Regions from separate parts of the Homo sapiens genome. Here regions 2, 3 and 4 are each linked to region 1. The links are contacts of gene promoters, found by promoter capture Hi-C in blood cells and fetal thymus (Javierre and others, 2016). All regions are on one chromosome and are shown on one strand. Each heading gives the region's core, a stretch centred on a gene start or on the middle of the fragment in contact. The rest is flanking DNA. Distances are from core to core; before and after follow the strand shown. Region 1 holds the start of H3-5 (H3.5 histone). Region 2 has its middle 41 kb from the start of RESF1. Region 3 overlaps RESF1 (retroelement silencing factor 1). Region 4 has its middle 17 kb from the start of RESF1.

The links. Contacts are between HindIII fragments. The CHiCAGO score rates a contact against its expected background, and 5 or more counts as called.
Region 2: a contact is called between a fragment that was not itself captured here and the fragment with the promoter of H3-5 in region 1, in 4 of 17 cell types (non-activated CD4 T cells, total CD8 T cells, activated CD4 T cells and 1 more). The highest score is 8.5, in non-activated CD4 T cells.
Region 3: a contact is called between a fragment that was not itself captured here and the fragment with the promoter of H3-5 in region 1, in 4 of 17 cell types (total B cells, non-activated CD4 T cells, activated CD4 T cells and 1 more). The highest score is 6.4, in total B cells.
Region 4: a fragment that was not itself captured here is called in contact with the fragment with the promoter of H3-5 in region 1 in 4 of 17 cell types (non-activated CD4 T cells, activated CD4 T cells, naive CD8 T cells and 1 more); the score reaches 8.3 in non-activated CD4 T cells.

Annotation. Positions count from the first base shown.
Region 1 is chr12:31,789,540-31,794,724 of GRCh38, reverse strand. H3-5 (H3.5 histone) reads left to right here and starts at 2,427. Exons shown (of 1, transcript NM_001013699.3): 1 at 2,427-3,540. The coding sequence starts at 2,559. The coding sequence ends at 2,966. The HindIII fragment of the contact is 13,966 bases long and covers 1-4,770 here.
Region 2 is chr12:31,997,492-32,002,676 of GRCh38, reverse strand. No RefSeq gene overlaps it. Among named protein-coding and RNA genes, the nearest start is that of RESF1, 41 kb to the right of the region's middle. The HindIII fragment of the contact is 186 bases long and covers 2,035-2,220 here.
Region 3 is chr12:31,980,500-31,985,684 of GRCh38, reverse strand. It overlaps RESF1 (retroelement silencing factor 1), which reads right to left. Exons shown (of 6, transcript NM_018169.4): 4 at 1-4,807. The coding sequence starts at 4,729. Among named protein-coding and RNA genes, the nearest start is that of RESF1, 24 kb to the right of the region's middle. The HindIII fragment of the contact is 3,126 bases long and covers 935-4,060 here.
Region 4 is chr12:31,939,565-31,944,749 of GRCh38, reverse strand. No RefSeq gene overlaps it. Among named protein-coding and RNA genes, the nearest start is that of RESF1, 17 kb to the left of the region's middle. The HindIII fragment of the contact is 974 bases long and covers 1,677-2,650 here.

The DNA.
Region 1 (5,185 bases), core at 1,178-3,677:
AGCCTGGACAGGAGGAACAGTTAGGGGCTAAGATCCTGCACAGGAAGAGGTGGAAGGAACAACTACAGGCAAAGGGGACCTGCAGGGGAAAATGTTCCATGTGGAAAATGCTAGGACTTCAGGGTCTCTTAGGTTAGTTAACTCTTCTGAGCCTCATTTTCCTCATCTGTAAAATGAGGATGTTAACAGTTTAAGGTTGATTCTGAGGATGGAATGTACTCAGTACATAAGTGTTCAGCAAACAGTAGTAGCTCTTATTGTTTGAGTCTCTTCCCCGCCTTGTGCCCCTAGTGTAGTAGTAAGGGTACGGATTTTCTTTTTTTTGTTTGTTTTTGTTTTTGTTTTTGGAGGAGTCTCGCTCAGTCGCCCAGGCTGAAGTGCAGTGGCGCGATCTCCGCTCACTGCAAGCTCCGCCTCCCGGGTTCACGTCATTCTCCTGCCTCAGCCTCCCGAGTAGCTGGGACCACAGGCGCCTGCTACCATGCCCACCTATTTTTTTTTGTATTTTTAGTAGAGACGGCGTTTCACCGTGTTAGCCAGGATGGTCTCCATCTCCTGACCTCGTGATCCGCCCGCCTCGGCCTCCCAAAGTGCTGGGATTACAGGCGTGAGCCACCGCCCGGCTGGGTACGGATTTTCTTTACGCTGTATATAAAAGTCTGAGAAACTATCAATTGCTTATAATAAAGAATGAAAACTCCAAAGGCATCTGGGGTGAGGTTGAGGGTCTGCACAGAGATTATGGGGGAAGGGGACGTCCAAAGCTGTCATTGGATTCAGGCACTCAACAGATTGGAACACAGTGTAGAGATTTATGGTAGTGTGAAGGTGCTTTATTTGTTATGAATTACTCAGAGATTTTACTATATTTTAACCTGGGGCGGGGAACCCTTCCTTTTTTTGCCCTTTTGAAAATAAGGTAGATTTCTTCAGATGTGGAAAGTATCAATGGTCAATCCAATAGCTTTTCGTTATTTTATTTTTTTATTTTTGGAGGCAAAGTCTCACTCTGTTACCCTGGCTGGAGTGCAGTAGTGCAATCTGGGCTCATTGCAACATTTGCCTCCTAGGTTCAAGCAAGTCTCCTGCCTCAGCCTCCCGAGTAGCTGGGACTACAGGCGTATGCCACCACGCTTGGCTAATTTTTGTATTTTTAGTAGAGACAGGTTTTGCCATGTTGGCCAGGCTCGTCTCAAACTCCTGACCTCGTGATCCACCTGCCTCGGCCTCCCAGTGCTACCATTACAGGCGGAGCCACCACACCTGGCTCACTTTGTGGCATATTTCTAGAAGTTAAAAAACTCACCTGACAAAAGAGATACTTTGTGGCCAGGCACGGTGGCTCACTCCTGTAATCCCAGCACTTTGGGAGGCTGAAGTGGGTGGATCACTTCACGTCAGGAGTTCGAGACCAGCCTGGCGAAAATGGTAAAACCCCCGTCTCTACTAAAAATACAAAAATTAGCCAGGTGTGGTGGCAGGCACCTGTAATCCCAGCTACTTGGGAGGCTGAGACAGGAGAATTGCTTGAACCTGGGAGGTGGAGGTTTCAGCGAGACGAGATCGTGCCATTGCACTCCAGCCTGGGTGAGGACAGTGAAACTCCATCTCCCAAAAAACAAAAAAAAAAAAAAAAAAGAGAGAGAGAGAGAGAAACTTTATGATTTACTCCATGGAACAAATATCATATAGAACTGTAACATTTAAAAGTCAGATTTCTGTTTCTAAACTTTAGGTTTATACCTCTTGGCAGATGACTAGATGATTCTTTCCCCATTCCAAGAGTAACAGATATTCAGCCAACTTGTGTGTGTGTTTATCACATGTGATTCCACATTTCAGTTTGTTTCTCTATATTTTTTGTATTTTAAATTGGACAAGTATTACTTTTATAATAAGAAAAAAGATAATTACTAAAAATAAATGAGAAATACATATACATGTAGAATTTGCATAGTGTCAAGTAAATGATAAGGGTAGAAAGAGTGCAGAGAAAAAAAGGATGAAAACGAAGGTGGCTGAAGAATGCTTTGTGACGGAGGTGGGATTGAAATGAGCTTTGAAAGGCCGGGTGCAGTGGCTCACACCTGTAATCCCAGTAATTTGGGAGGCTGCGGCGGGCGGATCACCTGAGGTCAGGAGTTTGAGACCAGCCTGGCCAACATGGTGAAACTCCGTCTCTACTAAAAATACAAAAATTAACCAGGTGTGGTGGCAGGCGCCTGTAATCCCAGCTACTCTGGAGGCTGAGGCAGGAGAATCGCTCGAACCTGGGAGGTGGAGGTTGTAGTGAACCGAAATCACGCCACTGCACTCCAGCCTGGGCAACAAAGCGAGACTCCGTCTCAAAAAACAAAACAACAACAAAAAACGAAACACCGAAATGGGCTTTGAAGAATGGAAGGGATGCAGATAAAAGAGAGGAGGGCGCAGAGCGGTTTGGTCGTTCGTTGGACCAGTGTCGGTTCTTCGCTCGCGACTGCGGCTCTTCCTCGGGCAGCGGAAGCAGCGCGGAGGTCGGAGAAGTGGCCTAAAACTTCGGCGTTGGGTGAAAGAAAATGGCCCGAACCAAGCAGACTGCTCGTAAATCCACCGGTGGGAAAGCCCCCCGCAAACAGCTGGCCACGAAAGCTGCCAGGAAAAGCACCCCCTCTACCTGCGGGGTGAAGCCTCATCGCTACAGGCCTGGGACCGTGGCGCTTCGAGAGATTCGTCGTTATCAGAAGTCGACCGAGCTGCTCATCCGGAAGCTGCCCTTCCAGAGGTTGGTGAGGGAGATCGCGCAGGATTTCAACACTGACCTGAGGTTTCAGAGCGCAGCCGTCGGTGCGCTGCAGGAGGCTAGCGAAGCGTACCTGGTGGGTCTGTTGGAAGATACTAACCTGTGTGCCATCCACGCTAAGAGAGTCACCATCATGCCCAAAGACATCCAGTTGGCTCGCCGGATACGGGGAGAGAGAGCTTAAGTGAAGGCAGTTTTTATGGCATTTTGTAGTAAATTCTGTAAAATACTTTGGTTTAATTGGTGACTTTTTTTGTAAGAAATTGTTTATATGTTGCATTTGTACTTAAGTCATTCCATCTTTCACTCAGGATGAATGCGAAAAGTGACTGTTTACAGACCTCAGTGATGTCAGCACTGTTGCTCAGGAGTGACAAGTTGTTAATATGCAAAACGGATGCGTGATATTTCTTGCTTCTCATGATGCATGTTTCTGTATGTTAATGACTTGTTGGGTAGCTATTAAGGTACTAGAATTGATAAATGTGTACAACAGGGTCCTTTTGCAATAAAACTGGTTATGACTTGATCCAAGTGTTTAACAATTGGGGCTGTTAAGTCTGACCATACATCACTGTGATAGAATGTAGGCTTTTTCAAGGGTGAAGATACAAACCTTAACCACAGTGTAACTTATAGTTTCCTTTAAAAAAAAAAAATTAAACCTGGCAGCTATAGAATACAATATGTGCATTTATAATAGCTATTTTATATATTGTAGTGTCAACATTTTCAAATTAAATGTTTTACATTCACAAGTGGTGGGGAGTCTTGTCATTAAGGTGTGTGTAATTTAGAGTCCAGTTGGTTTTCTTCTGACTGCACTTGTTCTCATAGTAGTAAAATGCTATGTGCATTTATACCTTGCATAAATCCTCATTCTACCACATGTTAACTAACCCTCTAGCTGATAATGGAAACACTAACTGGGGGATTTTATTTATAAGGGCTCTAGAAAAAAATATGAGTTATTCACACCAGCATCATCTGTTAACTAATATTCTGAACTAGTGCAGCTTTTCATTGTGTTGTGTGGTTGGTCTCATAACTAGGTTGAGTTTTCTCCTCTGCTAAGAGGAAACAGTACTGAAGTTCTTTTTCTTGTGGCATTTGTATTATAAAAACTTGGTGTAGGGGAGGAGCACAAAGCTCTAGCCCACTGAACCTCTGCCGGTTAAGATGGTGTTAGGTTAGGTTACATCTGGTTACTGTCCTGGGAAAATCATTTTTATAGAGATGGCCTTCCAAGTGGTTTTAAAATTTATCTTATTGAAGTTTTTAGGTCAATTATGTATGTTGACTAAATTTACAAATAAACTTGTTTATCCAAAAAAAAAAAAAGAGAGGAAAAGAATCAGAAATATTGGAGAGTAGAAATGCAACAGAAGAGAACTATAAAGTTTATGTTGGGGGAAAACAATTAGTTTGTCTCAAGTGTAGTATTTACGCAAAGGAGAAAACTTTAGGGATGTAGGGCCCACATTGTAAAGAGCTTGGAATTAGGATTTAAGGAATTTTATACTCTATCCTGCAAAATTCACAGACAAATTTGAGAACTGACTAGCATTTTAACTTGCAAAAAAAGACAAGTTAGTACAGAACTAGCACATCTAATTTTTAAAAAAGTATTTGAACTATAACATGGTGAAATCCCGTCTCTATTAAAAATACAAAAATTAGCTGGATGTGGTGGTGGGCGCCTGTAATCCCAGCTACTGTCAAGGCTGAGGCAGGAGAATTGCCTGAACCCAGGAAGTGGAGGTTGCAGTGAGCCGAAATCGCACCATTGCACTCCAGCCTGGGTGTCAAGAGCAAGACTGTCTAAAAAAAAAAAAAATCACAAAGTCAGGAGATAGCTCAGATTGTTATATATTAGTCAACAATTCTGATTGGATAACTTTGGGGTCAGTCTTGATAAAAAGAAAAACAGTATGTTTCTGTCTTTTGCATAAAAAATAACTTCACGGCTTATCTTGGAATTCAAAGCTTTTGAAATATTTCTGGTTTTCGTGGCTTATCTTAGAGTGCAAAGCTTTTAGGAATGTCAGCCTTTTCCAGACTATGGTACAGGATGGGCTTGATTAGTCGATATAGTGGGCATGATATTCGTTTTACAGACTAGAGTTCACACTAAATGGCCATAGGCTCCCATAGGGCCACCAGGTAGAGTTGTGCAGATTGTATAGGCTGTGCACTGCACAACTTTTTATGTTATGTGCACAGTGCCCTCTGGAGTTATAAAATGCAAAGTCGGCTGGACGTGGTGGCTCTCGCCTGCAATCCCAGCACTTTGGGAGGCCGAGGCAGGCAGATCACAAGGTCAGGAGTTCGAGACCAGCCTGGCCAACATGGTGAAACCCCATCTCTACTAAAATACAAAAATTAGCTGGGCGTGGTGGCATG
Region 2 (5,185 bases), core at 878-3,377, 210 kb before region 1:
AGCTCCGATGCTCAAGGGATCCTCCCACTTCACCCTCCTGAGTAGCTGGGATTTTAAAGCCTCTTAAAAGAATTATTCTCATGTGCTTCTGGTAGCAAGATATGAGGTTGGCTTTATCACTGTCTCTTAGGGTCATCTCTAAGTGAGGCTATGTAATACTTCCAGCTGGAGCCAGCATACTGTGCAGACCAATTCATAAACCAGGACTTGTCTTGGTTTATTCCCATTGGTTTATATCCATTCGTGTCTTCTCTCATGAAGCCTTATATGTGGACTGAGGGAAAGCCAGAGAAACAGAAGGAAGAGGTGTTATGGAACCCCGAGCAAGCTACTTGATTTTTTTTTTTTTTTTTTTTTTGAGATGGAGTCTTGCTGTGTCGCCCACGCTGGAGTGCAGTGGCACGATCTCGGCTCACTGCCACCTCCGCCTCCCAGGTTCACGCCATTCTCCTGCCTCAGCCTCCCGAGTAGCTGGGACTACAGGCGCCCGCCACCATGCCCGGCTAATTTTTTTGTAGTTTTAGTAGAGACAGGGTTTCACTGGGTTAGCCAGGGTGGTCTCCATCTCCTGACCTCGTGATCCGCCCACCTCAGCCTCCCAAAGTGCTGGGATTACAGGCGTGAGCCACCGTGCCCGGCCGCTTGTATGTTTTAATTGTGTCCTCAGGAACTGCTTGGGCTAGTCTTACATATACATTTTCATTTAACAATGAAATGCTGCTGCATGAGTCAAATTTTATGGTTTTTGGAATCAGATGACATCAAATTCATCAACAGTTCAGGTTTTACAATTTGTGTTCAAATGGAATGTACTTGTCAGAAAAGGTCATAGGGGGTTTACTAGGATTCTCCTAAAAGCAAGAGGTTTCACACACAGTAGAAATTCCCTGTACCATTGGGCCTGCTGGGCCATTAGGCCCAAGGGGCAGGGCAGCTTGCACCACAGCCTGGTCCTGCTGTGGAGCCTTTGCTTGCTTGAGGCCTCACATAAAATTAGAGCTGTGTGGGCCGGGTGCGGTGGCTCACACCTGTAATCCCAGCACTTTGGGAGGCCGAGGCGGGCAGATCACGAACTCAGGAGGTCGAGACCATCCTGGCTAACATGGTGAAACCCCGTCTCTACTAAAAAATACAAAAAAATTAGCTGGGTGTGGTGGCGGGTGCCTGTAGCCCCAGCTACTCAGGAGGCCAAGGCAGGAGAATGGCGTGAACCCAGGAGGCGGAGCTTGCAGTGAGCTGAGATGGGGCCACTGCACTCCAGCCTGGGCGAGAGAGCGAGACTCCATCTCAAAAAAAAAAGAAATTAGAGCTGTGTGTGTGTTACCTGATAAATTGCTTAGGGTGACACGTCCATAAGGTGGCATGTCCATAGATGGTGTATGTTCCCTCCAAACTTCACACAGGCTCATCAAACATTTCTCTTTGTGGTAGATGGTACAATATACACAAGACTACAATCAGACCCTAAAAACCTTACGAATGTGGTCAATCATGAATTTTTATTCAAGATTTCCTTCCCATCCCGTCATGCATGTGTTTTATTAAGTCTTGTAGGATGTTTATTATTTTCTGCTTGTCAGGTCCAATTAGCATAATATCATCAAAGAAACGGACCAACGTTGTGTGGGCTATCAAGATGACAAAATCCACTCTATTATAACAGAAAGCAGGATACAGCCAGGCATGGTGGCTTATGCTTGTAATCCAGCACTTTGGGAAGCTGACATGGGAGGATTGCTTGAGCCTGACCAGACTGGGCAACACAGGGAGACCTCATTTCTCTAAAAAATAAAAAATTATCCAAGGATGGTGGTGCACGCCTGCAGTCCCAGCTACTCAGGAGGCTGAGGTGGGAGGATCACTTGAGCCCAGAAGGTCAAGGCTGCAGTGAGCTGTGACCACACCATTGCACTCGAGTCTGGGTGGCACAGCAAGACCGTGTCTCCAAAAAATAAAAACAACAACGAAAGAATCACTAGACATTTATATTTTATTTTAAAAAAGGTAGAATATTCGAAGGCAGATATCTAAGCTTAAAGTAGCTACAGCCAAGTATACTAAACGTTAATGGTCCATGTCCTAGAGGTTGAAAGATTCATAATCAGGAGAATACAAGGCAACCAGGTGCTGAGTCAGCCCACAGGGGAATGCAGATAAGACCTCAGGCAGGCTTTAACAGGGTCTTAAAGATAAAATAACTATCCTGTCTAGGCACAAGCTTATAGGAATCCCAATGACAGAGATACACATTTTTATTTTTTTGAGACAGAGTCTCACTCTCTCGCCCAGGCTGGAGGGCAGTGGCGCGATCTTGGCTCATTGCAAGCTCTGCCTCCCGGGTTCACACCATTCTCCTGCCTCAGCCTCCCGAGTAGCTGGGGCTACAGGCGCCCACCACCACACCTGGCTAATTTTTTTTTTTTTTACATTTTTTAGTAGAGACGGGGTTTCACCATATGAGCCAGGATGGTCTCCATCTTCTGACCTCATGATCCGCCTGTCTCAGCCTCCCAAAGTGCTGGGATTGAGCCACCGTGCCCAGCCGTGCCTGGCTAATTTTTGTATTTTTAGTAGACACAAGGTTTTGCCATGTTGGCCAGGCTGGTCTCAAAACTCCTGACCTCAGGTAATCTACCCACCTCAGCCTCCCAAAGTGCTGGGGTTACAGGCGTAAGCCACGCCACCCAGCCTCCAGAAACTTTTAAAAAGCACATTTCCTAATATTTATGCCCTTGGATAACCCCCTTGAGTATGGGCTGGAATTCTGTGACTCACTTCTAGCAAATAGAAAGTAGCAAAATTGACACATCATTTCAGAGATTAGGTTAGAGACTGACTTTGGGACCGGGCATAGCGGCTCACCCCTGTAATCCCAACACTTCGAGAGGCTGAGGTGGGCAGATTGCTTGAGCCCAGGAGTTCACCATCCTGGGCAACATGGCGAAACCCTATTATCTACAAAAAAACTCCCAAAATACAAAAATTAGCAGGCCAGTGGCATGGGCCTGTGGTCCCAGCTACTTGTGCGGCTAGAGTGGGAGGACTGTCCAAGCCCAGGAGGCAGGGGTTGCAGTGAGCCAAGATCGCACCACTGCACCCCAGCCTGGGTGAGAGAGACCCTATCTCCAAAAAAGTATTTATTTTTACAACCTTAAAAACTGAAGAATACCAAGATATATTTATCAATATCGATTCCATGAGAACTTGAAACAAATTTTGAAGATACTTCATTTTAAAATGATGAACCCATTACATTCATATAATTTTTTTTTTTTGAGACTGAGTCTCACTGTCTCCCAGGCTGGAGTGCAGTGGCGCGCAGTCTCAGCTCACTACAACCTCTGCCTCAGACTCCTGAGCAGCTGAGACTACAGGCACGTGCCATCACACCCAGTTAACTTTTGTATTTTTGTTTGTTTTTTTGAGACAGTCTCACTCTGTCGCCCAGGCTGGAGTGCAGTGGCTTGATCTTGACTCACTGCAACCTCTGCCTCCTGAGTAGCTGGGACTACAGGCCCAAGCCACCACGCCCAGCTAATTTTTGTATTTTTAGTAGAGACGGGGTTTCACCATGTTGGCCAGGCTGGTCTCGAACTCCTGACCTCGTGATTCACCAGCCTTGGCCTCCCAAAGTGCTGGGATTACAGGCATGAGCCACCGAGCCCACCAATGTTTGTATTTTTAGTAGGGACAGGGTTTCACCATTTTGGCCAGGCTAGTCTCAAACCTCTGACCTTAGGTGATCCACCCAGCTCGGCCTCCCAAAGTGTTGGGATTACAGGCGTGAGCCACTGCACCCAGCCAAATAAATGTTTATGAAAAATACTTACCAGGAGAATGAGAAAAGATTGGCAGTTTTATATTTTTACAAATCTGACTTAAAAATATATACAGTACATAATACTTGACAATGATAAATGACTGTTACTGGTTTGTGTTTAGTATGTTATGCTTTTTATGTAGGTTAATTTATTCCTACTTATTTTTTTTTTAGACGAAGTCTCACTCTGTCGCCAGGCTGGAGTGTAGTGGTGTGATAGCTCGCTGCAACCTCCGCCTCCTGGGTTCAAGTGATCCTTCTACCTCAGCCTCCCGAGTAGCTGGGACTACAGGCATACACCACCATGCCCAGCTAATTTTTTGTACTTTTAGTAGAGATGGGGTTTCACCATGTTGGCCAGAATGGTCTCAATCTCCTGACCTCGTGATTCGCCTGCCTCGGCCTCTCAAAGTGTTGGGATTACAGGCGTGAGCCACTGTGCCCAGCTTCCTACTTTTTAAAAAACTAAAAAATATTTTTAAATTTAAATAAATTAAAAAATAGGCTTGGGTGCGGTGGCTCACACCTGTTGTCCCAGCTACTCGGGAGGCTGAAGCAGGAGAATTGCCTGAACCTGGGAGGCATAGGTTGCGGCAAGCCAAGACTGCGCCACTGCACTCCAGCCTGTGCGACAAAGCGGGGCTCCGTCTCAAAAACAAAACAAAACAAAAACTATAAAACAGCCTCAGCCAGGTCCTTCAGGTGTTCCAGAAGGCACTGTTATCACAGGAGATGACAGCTCCATGCGTGTTACTGCCCTTGGTGACCTTCCAATGGGGCAAGATGTAGAGGAGGAAGACAAGTGATACTGATGATCCTGACTACGTGGAAGCCAAGGTTAATGTTTTCCTGGTTCTGTTTTTTTTTTTTTTTGGTTGGGGGGGGGGGTGGAGACAGGGCTGAAGTAATCCTCCCACCTCAGCCTCCCAAGTAGCTGGCATTACAGGTGCACACCACCAAACCTGGCTAATTTTTGTACTTTTGGTAGAGACCGGGTTTCAGCATGTTGTACTGGTCTTGAACTCTTGGACTCAAGCAATACTGCTCACCTTGGCCCACCAAAGTGCTGGGATTACAGGCATGAGGCACTGTGTCCAGTCATCTCCTGACCTTGGTGAGCCACTGTGCCCATCTTTTAGTTTTCAATTTGAAAAAAAGTTAAAAAAAAATTTAATAAAAAAGAGCTTATACAAAAAGTATAAAGAAAATTTTGAAAAGGCTGGGTGTGGTGGCTCACACCTGTAATCCCAGCACTAGGAGGCCGAGGCGGGCAGACCACCTGAGATCAGGAGTTCGAGACCAGCCTGGCCAACACGGTGAAACCCCATCTCTACTAAAAATACAAAAATTACCTGGGCGTGGTGG
Region 3 (5,185 bases), core at 1,248-3,747, 190 kb before region 1:
GATCCTTTACTTGGGGAGGCATTTGGCTGAATTGAGCTTCGTTGCTTATATTGGTTAATTTGTCTAATTTAGTCTTATCAATCCATATTTTATCAGGCTGCTTCCCACCAACTTTTTCTTTAACATTCCTTAGAATGTTGTATGTTTTAGACTCCTGAGAATGGTGGATTTTGAGGTTTTTACCATGGCTTGTCAAGCCATTTAATGATTCTTTAGAGGTCTGCACGCCGCTGCTGTGTTTCTCATTTGATTTCCCACAACTTTCAACCTGCACGGCAAGTTTACTTGGTCTCATATGTTCAGAATCACATGGCACGTTTTTCACACAGATTTTCTTCGATGCTTTATTACTCAGAGCTTCTTTATGCTTCTGCCTTTGTAAATACTCCTTAGGAGTTAGAATTCTACTAAATTTAGATGAACTCGCTTTCGTGTCTACAGACTTAGTATTTGATACCATCTTTTCTTTAACAATGGCTCTTTCGTTTGGGTTTGACAAAGAGTCACCTAATTTGAATGTAGCTCCCACACTTCCTTTCTGTTCTTGTTTATCATGTTTCTTTTTCTTTACTTCCATATCTAATACGTTCCCTTGGTCTAACTTTCGTTTTTGTTTGAAGCTAACTGATTTGAGTTTCAATTTTATCTTTTCTGGTGATAATGACTGTCCCAAAGAACTATGCTTCTTATACACATCTTTATTTGGCAAAAAAGCTGTTTTTGTTTTTAGTGGACGTGAGTTCTGTGTTACATGTTTCTTCTGTCGGGTTTCCTGAGAAGCTTGTTCATAAGATGCTGTCATTTTATTACTGGAGTGAAAGGTTACCTCGTGAAACCTCAATTTTTTTCTTTTGTGATTTTGCAAGGGATTTAGTTTATCACATTTAGATGAAAACTGACCAGCAACTAATTCTTGTTCTGTCCTTGGTAAGCTTTTATGTTTTGTTTTGGGTGTATCTTTTCTACTGTCGTCTTGTAGTTCAGGAAAATGACTTTTCCCATCTGGAGGAGTCTTTGGATTATTTACAAGGCTCTTAAATTGAACAACAGTGACATCTCTATCAGAAGTTCTCTCTCCTTGTTTACAACTGTTGGTATCCAAAGGAGAACACTGCTCTTTTTGTTTCTCTTCCTCTGAAGATGAGTTCTTGATGGAATTACACTGACACTGGGGTACTCCTTCGTAAACCATGGAGAGCCAGCCCAATGCACAGCAGTGGATATCATCTTTCTCAGAGTCCAGTATCACAGAATCACGACTTTGTCCAGCTGCAGGTGCCTGCAGGTCACACTGGCTAACTACTTCTGTGATGGGCTCTTCTTTCTGAGGTTCTGCCAACTTGTCTACTACATAGGGTTGATCATCCTGTTCAGGAAATATTTCTTTCATTTGCTCTGAGCTTAATATTGTAATTTGTATTTGATCTGCTGGGTCTTTGGAGTCAGAACTGGTTTTATCAGCAGTTTGATCTTCTGAGGTCTGGTATGTAGTTTGCTGGCCCACAGAACCTTCACGTGTATTCACAGCCTCAATGCCATAAGGAAACTCTTTTAGAAGTTCTGACAGCTGGTCATGTAGGTATAAGACAGGTGCCTTATCACTGTGGATTTCATTTCTTGCAGGATCTTGGGGAGTATAGTTGCTGGATGCATCTATTTCCTGAGGGTAAATATCCTCCTGAATAGCAGCTGACGAGCACGTATCGTTAGCTGTGCTTTTTTCAGTGGCATGCTCCAAACTACTTTTCTCTAGAATAACTCTGTTTGTTTCAAGATTGTTAAAAGATGACTCTAAGGGTGGCTCTGACTTTGACTGATCACATATTTTATGTGAAACATCTGTGCACTGTACAGGTTTATCTTTTTGAAAACCAAAGTCTTTATTTTCAGTGGTATTATCTAATTGTTTTTCTGGTTCTCTGCTGCCAATCCCTTGCTGATTGGGTAGAGAAGGTTTCTGTGGCTCAACCATTTTCAAGGGAAGAGAGCTGAATATCTTTGCTATTTGGGAATTGTAAGAGGTATCACCTTCAACCAGAGAACAAATATTGTCAATCTGTAATGTATCACTACTCACAACAGTACTATTCCTTGACTCCTGTGAGATTTGCTGATCGTTCATAGGAGAATGGATAGCTGACTCTAATTTGTTATGCTTTCCTTGATTGACATTAGGTGTGACTTCTGAATTACCATTAGTTGACTCATTCTGCTTTTCCTTCTGAGTTAGTGGAAAAATCTTGGTTGATGTTGCTGTACTTGCTACTGGTCCACTAACATCAACTTTCAAAGCAGCAGTTGCCTTTGCATTTTCTGCCAATTGATTTTGTAAACTACAAACACTGCCTTCTTTAATAACGGGATACACTGTTTCAGGTAACACTGCAGGTGTTATTCCTTTGACAGACAATGTTTTGACCTCTGACAGAACTAACGGTGACACTACAGCTATCTGAAGTTCTGTTCCCTTTGTTATATTTATACCTGAAGACTCATAATTGTGCATTACCATCGACAAAGCTGTCTGCTGTGAGGGATTACTTATTTTATTCTGAGAATTTGAATTTCCCACAACTGAACAAGGACTCTTAACGTGGATGTTAGCAGGCTTTGAAATTCCAACTGCTGTTGTGTTTGTTCTGAGTTTATCACACTCCTTTTCTTTTGCAGTATCTGAAGGTTGCTTTTTCCACAGGGAAAGACAGGTTGCTAGCACTTCCATGGAACAGCTACTGTCACTTTTAGCAGGCATTCCTTTTGTTGAGGATTCTTGTCCACTGCAAAAGGAGTTGTCCAAAACCCTGCCACTTACATTAGAAGTACTTGGAGTTTCCATGTTCTTCAAATTCAGTTGGTTACCAGTCATTTGGGTATTTGGATTCATTTCACAACTGTCTGGTTTAGAATCCTGAATAGTTTGATTAGCATCTTTTAATACTGTCTTCTGAGTCTTACGTGCCTGTGAAAGCAAAGCGAGAAGTAGCATATTTTCATTTTGAATTTTTGATTTATATTCCTCAGTGGACATGGACTTGGGAACAGAAATTGTTTCACAAACTGCTGGTGAATTTTGCTCAACTTTGGTAACATTTTCTGATGAAAGCTGAGTATTCAATACTGCCTGGGTCATCTCAACAGCTGATGTCTTTGAAGTGAGAACTTTCACATCATGAGATGAGTCTGGCATTGGCCGCTTTTCAGAATAGACAGGATTTGGTAAAACAGAATCAACTTGGTTAAACCTTCTGCAATTGACTTCCTGAATGTCAGAATTCAACATACATTGAGTCTTATTTGTTTCTGCAGATTCCACTACTGTTGGTGTTTGTCTCTCTGCATTCTCTGGCATTACTGGAGTTATCTGGGGTCCAGACTGGATTTTGGCAGTTTGTTTTAGAGACAATTTAGAATTCTGAGCTGGTTCACTATAAGAAGTATTAGTCATTTTAATACAACCTGCTGCCATCAAAAGATCTTTATTGATTTTAATTTTCCTTGCAAGTTCTGAAAACTTCTGTTTTATCTCTACTAATGTTTTAATATCCCTTACTAGCTTTTCTTTTGCAACACTTGTGTCCAGTACTTGATTTGAAGTTGGATTGCAAGAATCCATTATTTTCTCTTCATTAGTTTGAGCAAGAGTCTGAACACCATCCACAGAAGATCTAATGGGACTGTTAAAAGGCTGTTTGCTGTTGGTATTTACTTTCAAGTTAGTGAAATTTCCAATTGTGCTGACATTTTCATTAGGGTTTTGCCACTGCTGTTGAAAGCTGGTCCTTATTTCAGATGACAGCATTTCTCGACTCTGAGGAACTTCCATAGACAAGTGTTTAGTAATATGCTGAGTACTTTGCAAAGGCTGGCTTCCATATCTACAGTTGTAAGGAGGAGGAGGAGGTCTTTTGTCAGTTTGCGTGGCATACTGCTGTGATGGTACAGCTGAGGTCTGCCTTGATGGTAAAGTTAATACAGAATTTAGAAGCTGACTATTTTTAACTTGCAATGATGTATGTGGTATAAAGTTTTGTTTTTGAATGGTAGAATCTGGTAAAAAGCTTTGTGGTGAGTAACGGTATAGCTTTGGAGGTGGTCTGTAATCTGGGTAAGTCAGTCCCTTAGATATACACTGTTGTGTCCAATCAACCTGTTGCTCTGAAAAAGACTGGTTAAGTCCCTGATTTCCTTGGTAAGCTACAGGAAGTCGTGTAGAATTAGAAGGGATCATCTGCATTTGCATAGAATAGGTATCTGATGTTATCAGTTGACTCTGTAGTGCCGGCATATTGGGTACGTTAGCTCCAAAATCAGTTTGATGAGATACAGTTGCCCCTATATGAGAATGCACAGGATTCCTCATTGGTGAGTTCAACCATACGTTTTGGGTAACTCCTGAAGACATCTGCAAATTGTGAGTTAGTTGTTTGGGTCCATTAACATTTGCATATGTTATTCTTTCTACTGAAGTGTGTGAGGCCACAACTGTCCCATTATGCATATCAGAAACAGAAATTTGTTGAGGATAATTTTGGATATTCAGCAGTGGCTGTGAAATTGGATTTGAATTACCGGGATACATGCATGCTTCTTGGTTACTTCCAGGATAGCTGAAAGAACTCTGAGATGTTGTGGTAATTTGGTTTATTAAAGACTGGTGCAAAAAAGGTGGCTGGCTTTTAGGATACAGTGGTGGTAATGTAGCACTCTTTGGTTTTTCATTCCAATTCATTGTCGGTTTGATATAGTAGCAGTGTATTACAAGTCAGTTATAAGTCAGTTACAAGTCAGTTGTCTGAATGTCAGGAATCTGTAAGAAATAAAGATATTTTATTAAAATGCTGTTTTGCCTAGATAGAATATCTAAGAAAATTAGTAGCTGACTGTCCATCCTAATTACTGAATCTTCAGAGCAGCCTCATCTTTAATTTGGGAAGAAGAGGAGCAATAGAGGATACAACAATAAATAAGGCAAGTGTCAATGAAATTTCTAACGTGTTTAACAGAAATTCATTCCACACAATGACAGCTAGCTTTTTGTTACATTTAAATGCCAATCACCTTCTGTTTTTACTTATTTTTAACAGACTTTCTTCTAAGTAATCCATGCTAACTGCATTTTTTAAAAAAGCTAACATGACAATAAAAATGAGAATTTAAAAAAAAAGGGAAGTTCAAACATATGGTT
Region 4 (5,185 bases), core at 914-3,413, 150 kb before region 1:
TTCTAGTAGACTGTTGGTAATTGAAGGCAACTGGCTGGGGCCAGTCTCTGGTGTAACCTGAAGGCCAAGGAGTGAATGGGGATGGCTGCCTTGCCTGGAACGGGGAAGGACTCTTTTCTATCTTTTCTGGTTATAGTCCCTGATCCCTATGTGTGACGTAATTGGCAGTGGAAGCTCACCCGGGGCTAACTCATACATGTTTCAGGTGACTTAAACCTTCTTTCCTTATGCTGAATTCTTTCCTTCCCTACTCGACTGGCTAAGGACAAGTCAGAGGGCTTGGGCATGTTGTAGATGGTCTGTGTGAGTCATGGGGGTGGATTCATAAGAGGGAATTTATATACAATTTAATCTTGCCTAAATGTAGAGAGTTAAATAATTGTTTTAAGTGGGATAGGAAAAAAAATCCAAAGGTTTGACTACAAATTAATTCTAGAAGTCAAGGCCTTCATCCAGGGACAAGAGGGAAAGCTCATAGTGGGCCATCAGTGGTGGAGGGAACCATTCCAAAGTGGTGCTAGCACCCATGTGAGTTTAGCGACATCTGACAGGCTAAGATGGGGCCCTTAAGGGTATGCCCCCTGGGAACCCCAATCAGGGGCCAGAATTTTTCCAGGGGGATACCCCAGCTAAAATTTCGGTTACTTAATGAGCCCTCAACTTTTCAAAGTTCTCTTCTCTTTTCTAGACCACTATGGGCAACTCTCCATCAATTCCACCTGATTCCCCACTTGGCTGCATCCTCTGGGATTGAAATCAATTTGACCCTGACAATCTAAAGAGAAAACGTATGATTTTTGTTTCTCCAATACTGTTTGTCCCCATTATAAGCTCCCCAGCCTGGAACAATGGGTGGTCAATAGTAGCCTTAATTATGACACCATCCTGCAATTAGACCTGTTTTTTAAAAGGCAGGGCAAATGGTCAGAAATCCCATATGTATAGGCCTTCATGGCCCTATACCAAAACCTAATAATTCCCCCACAGGGAAGTCCAAAGGCAGAACTAGATATTATAGATGACCCCCTTTTACAAGGGCCACCTGTCTCTCAGGGTGAACAGCAACTGCCTCCATATAGCCGCTTGCCAAGTGTTCCTGAGGCTAAAACCCAAACACTGGGGACCCTACTCAGTCCCCCTCACACTCGGAGGGGAACAGCACATTCAACTCTCCCTCCAGCCCTGCTACCCCTTAGGAAGTAGCAGAAGCCAAGGGGCCAGTCCTAGTGCAGGTCCCCTTCTCTATAACTAATATACAATAACATAAGGGAAAGTGAGGAAGCTGTTCTGAGAATCCCAGGAAATTCATAGATGGGCTCCAGACTTTGACCTTAGCCTTTGATCTCTCATGGAGGGACGCTCAATTCATTCTAGCAATCTGTTACACCTCCTTTGAAAAGGAACACATCCTTGAGGCTGCCCGCCAGGAAGCAGACAATTTATTTGCCCGAAACCCTCAGGGCAATCACCCAGGACCAGACACAGTCCCTACTACTGATCCTAACTGGGACTATAACACACCCATGGGAATGAACAACTGGGCTAAATTTCTTTAGGCTCTCCTTGGAGGAATGAGAAAGGGAATAACTAAAGCAGTAAATTATGATAAAGTAAGGGAGGTTACACAGGGAAAGGAGGAAAATTCAGCCATGTTTCATGGCAGGCTGGAGGAAGCTTTTAACAAATACACTAATCTGGACCCTTCTTCTCCCAAAGGCAAAATAGGAATGGCACAGCATTTCATTAGCCAATCTGCCCCAGCCGTTAGACATAAGCTCCAAAAACTACAGATGGGGCCACAAACTAATCAAAATCAGCTTCTTGATACCACCTTTATGGTTTATAACAATCGTGACCTGGTGGAAGGAAAAAGGGAGCAAAATAAAACGGCAAGCAGGCTGGGCACAGTGGATCACACCCGTAATTCCAGCACTTTGGGAGGCCGAGGCAGGCGGATCACCTGAGGTTGGGAGTTCAAGACCAGCCTGACCGACATGGAGTAACCCCGTCTCTACTAAAAATACAAAATTAGCTAAGCCTGCTGGCACATGCCTGTAATCTCAGCTACTCAGGAGACTGAGGCAGGAGAATCACTTGAACCCAGGAGGCGGAGGTTGCGGTGAGCCAAGATTGTGCCATTGCACTCCAGCCTGGGCAAGAAAAGTGAAACTCTGTCTCAAAAAAAAAAAAAAAAAGAAAAGAAAAGAAAAATGGCAAGCCAAAATTATGGAAGCCATCATTGGCGATGCTGTGAATGCCCAAAGAGTGTCCAAAGGAAACCAGAAGAGCCATAAGGATAATGCCAGCAAGGGCTCTTGCTTCAAATGCAAGAAAGCTGGGCATTGTGCAAAGAATTGTACTAAGCATATGCCAGGCCCTTGCCAAAAACGTGAGGGTACTGGTTATGACCCCTGGCACTGGAGGATTGACTGCCCCAGTTCCCACTGAGGGGCTCAGTCAGTCAAAGCTCTAGCAGTACAAAAGGAGGAATTAGATGAGGAGCCCCGGGTAACTCTGGCTGTGATGGGCCCCCAAATTCAGTTTCTTTTTGATACAGGAGCAAATTAGTCTGTCCTTACTGCTTGTGCAGGAAAACCTTCCTCCCAGTCAATGAGTGTTATGGGAATGGAAGGAAGGCCACAAACAAGCTTCTTCACTCCTCCTTTGATTTGTCAATTTGAGAAACAATTTTTCCAACAGGAATTTCTAGTAGTACCAAGCTGCCCAGTCCTCCTGTTGGGAAGAGATATTATGGTTAAAATAGGGGCACTACTACAATTTAAGCATCACCCAGTGAAATTGCTAATAGTCAAAAATACAATGTCCCAGACCACATTAATAAACAGGCTAACCTGCTAGCATGGTATACTGGGAAACCGGGGAAGGCTAAAACAAAAGTGCCAGTCAAAACACAGCTTAAAGACCCCAGCTATTTTCCCAATTGAAAATAATACCAAGCCAGGGCTGGGCGCAGTGGCTTATGGCTGTAATCTAAGCACTTTGGGAGGCGGAGGTGGGTGGATCAAGAGGTCAAGAGATCGAGACCATCCTGGCCAACATGGTGAAACCCCATCTGTACTAAAAACACAAAACTTAGCTGGGTGTGGTGGTGCACACCTGTAGTCCCAGCTACTCAAGAGGCTGAGGCAGGAGAATCACTTGAGCCGAGGAGGCGGAGGTTGCAGTGAGCCGAGATTACGCCACTGCATTCCAGCCTGGTGACAGAGTGAGACTCTGTCTCAAAACAACAACAACAACTACAAAAAAATACCCAGCCAGGCATGGAGTCTCATGCCTGTAATCCCAGCACTTTGGGAGGCCGAGGTAAGTGGATCACCTGAGGTCAGGAGTTTGAGACCAGCCTGGCCAACATAGTAAAACCCCATCTGTACTAAAAATACAAAAATTAGCTGGGCATGGTGGCACATGCCTGTAATCCCGGCTACTCAGGAGGCTGAGGCACAAGAATTGCTTGAACCCAGGAGGTGAAGGTTGCAGTAAGCCGAGATTGTGCCACTGCACTCCAGCTTGGGCAACAGAGTGAGACTCTGTCTCAAAAACAAAAACAAAAATAAGAAACCAATTAAGCTGGAAGCAAGAAAAGGCTTCATAGTTAAAATAGTTGAGCTATCCAGAGCTGAGATATTACTTACCCATGGGCTCTGAAAACCCTTCAATTCTCCTTGCAACATCCCCATCTTACCTGTTCTAAAGGCTTTGAGGGAATACCAGCTAGCACAGGATCTCAGAATAATTAATGAGGCCATTATCCCTGGCCATCCATTGGTGGTGGATCCATATATACCCTCTTGGCTCAGGTGCCAGGGGATGCAAAATAGTTCTCAGTCCTAGACCTAAAAGATGCTTTCTTCTCCATTCCTCTGCCCCCAGAGTCCCAATAGGTTTTTTGCTTTTGAATGGGAAAATCCTAGTACCAGAGAAAAATAATACACTTGGATGGTGCTCCCTCAGGGCTTCCGGGATAGCCCCCATTTCTTTGCCTGAGTCTTAGAGAGGGATCTGAGGGATCTGCAATTGGAGAATGGGAGTATACTCTAGTATGTGGATGACCTTCTTGTGCGTAGCCAACCTGGGTGGCTTCTGACCAAAATACTATACAAACTTTGAATTTCCTGGAATACGGGATACAAAGATGGCTCAGATTACCCTCCAATGGTTCCAATATTTTGGATATGTCTTAACACCCGGAGCCTGGCAAATATCCCCAGAATGAGCACAGACCATATGTGGTTTGAGCCCTGCCTCCAACACCAAGCAGCAGCTTCATTCTTTTTGGGGAATGGCTGGGTTTTGCAGAATATGGGTACCAAATTTTGGGCTCATAGCAAAGCCTCTATATGAAGCAACAAGGGGGCCTGAAAATGAGCTAATGGAATGGGCCCCAGAAATGAGAGAAGCCTTTGCCAAGCTAAAACAGGCCCTTACCCAGGCTCTCGCTCTTGGCATCCCAGAGCTAACTAAGCCCTTCTCCTTGTATGTAGCAGAGAAGAGGGCCATAGCTATGGGAGTACTAGCCCAGAAATTAGGATCAGAACCCAGACCAACCACCTACTTCTTTTCTTTTCTTTTTCTTTTTCTTTTTCTTTTTCTGAGACGGAGTCTCACACTGTTGCAGGGGCCGGTGTGCAGTGGCACAATCTCAGCTCACTGCAACCTCCACCTCCCAGATTCAAGCAATTCTCCTGCCTCAGCCTCCTGAGTAGCTAGGATTACAGGCGCCCACCACCTCGCCTGGCTATTTTTTTTGTATTTTTAGTAGAGACAGAATTTCACTATGTTGGCCAGGCTGGTCTTGAACTCCTGACTTTGTGATCTGCCCACTTCTGCCTCCCAAAGTGCTGGGATTACAGGCGTGAGCCACCATGCCTGGCCCCAACTGCCCACTTTTCAAAGAAGTTGAATGGAGTGGCCTCCTGATGGCCAAGTTGCCTGCGGGCAATAGCAGCCACTGCTATGTTAGTGGAGGAAGCCACTAAAATCAACCTGGGCCAACTGCTGGAAGTTCTAACCCCCAATCAGGTAAAGTCAGTCTTAGAGATAAAGGGACACAGCCAGGCACAGTGGCTCACATCTGTAATCCCAGCACTTTGGGAGGTAGAGGTGGGTGGATCACCTGAGGTCAGGAGTTCGAGACCAGCCTGGACAACATGGTGAAACCCCATCT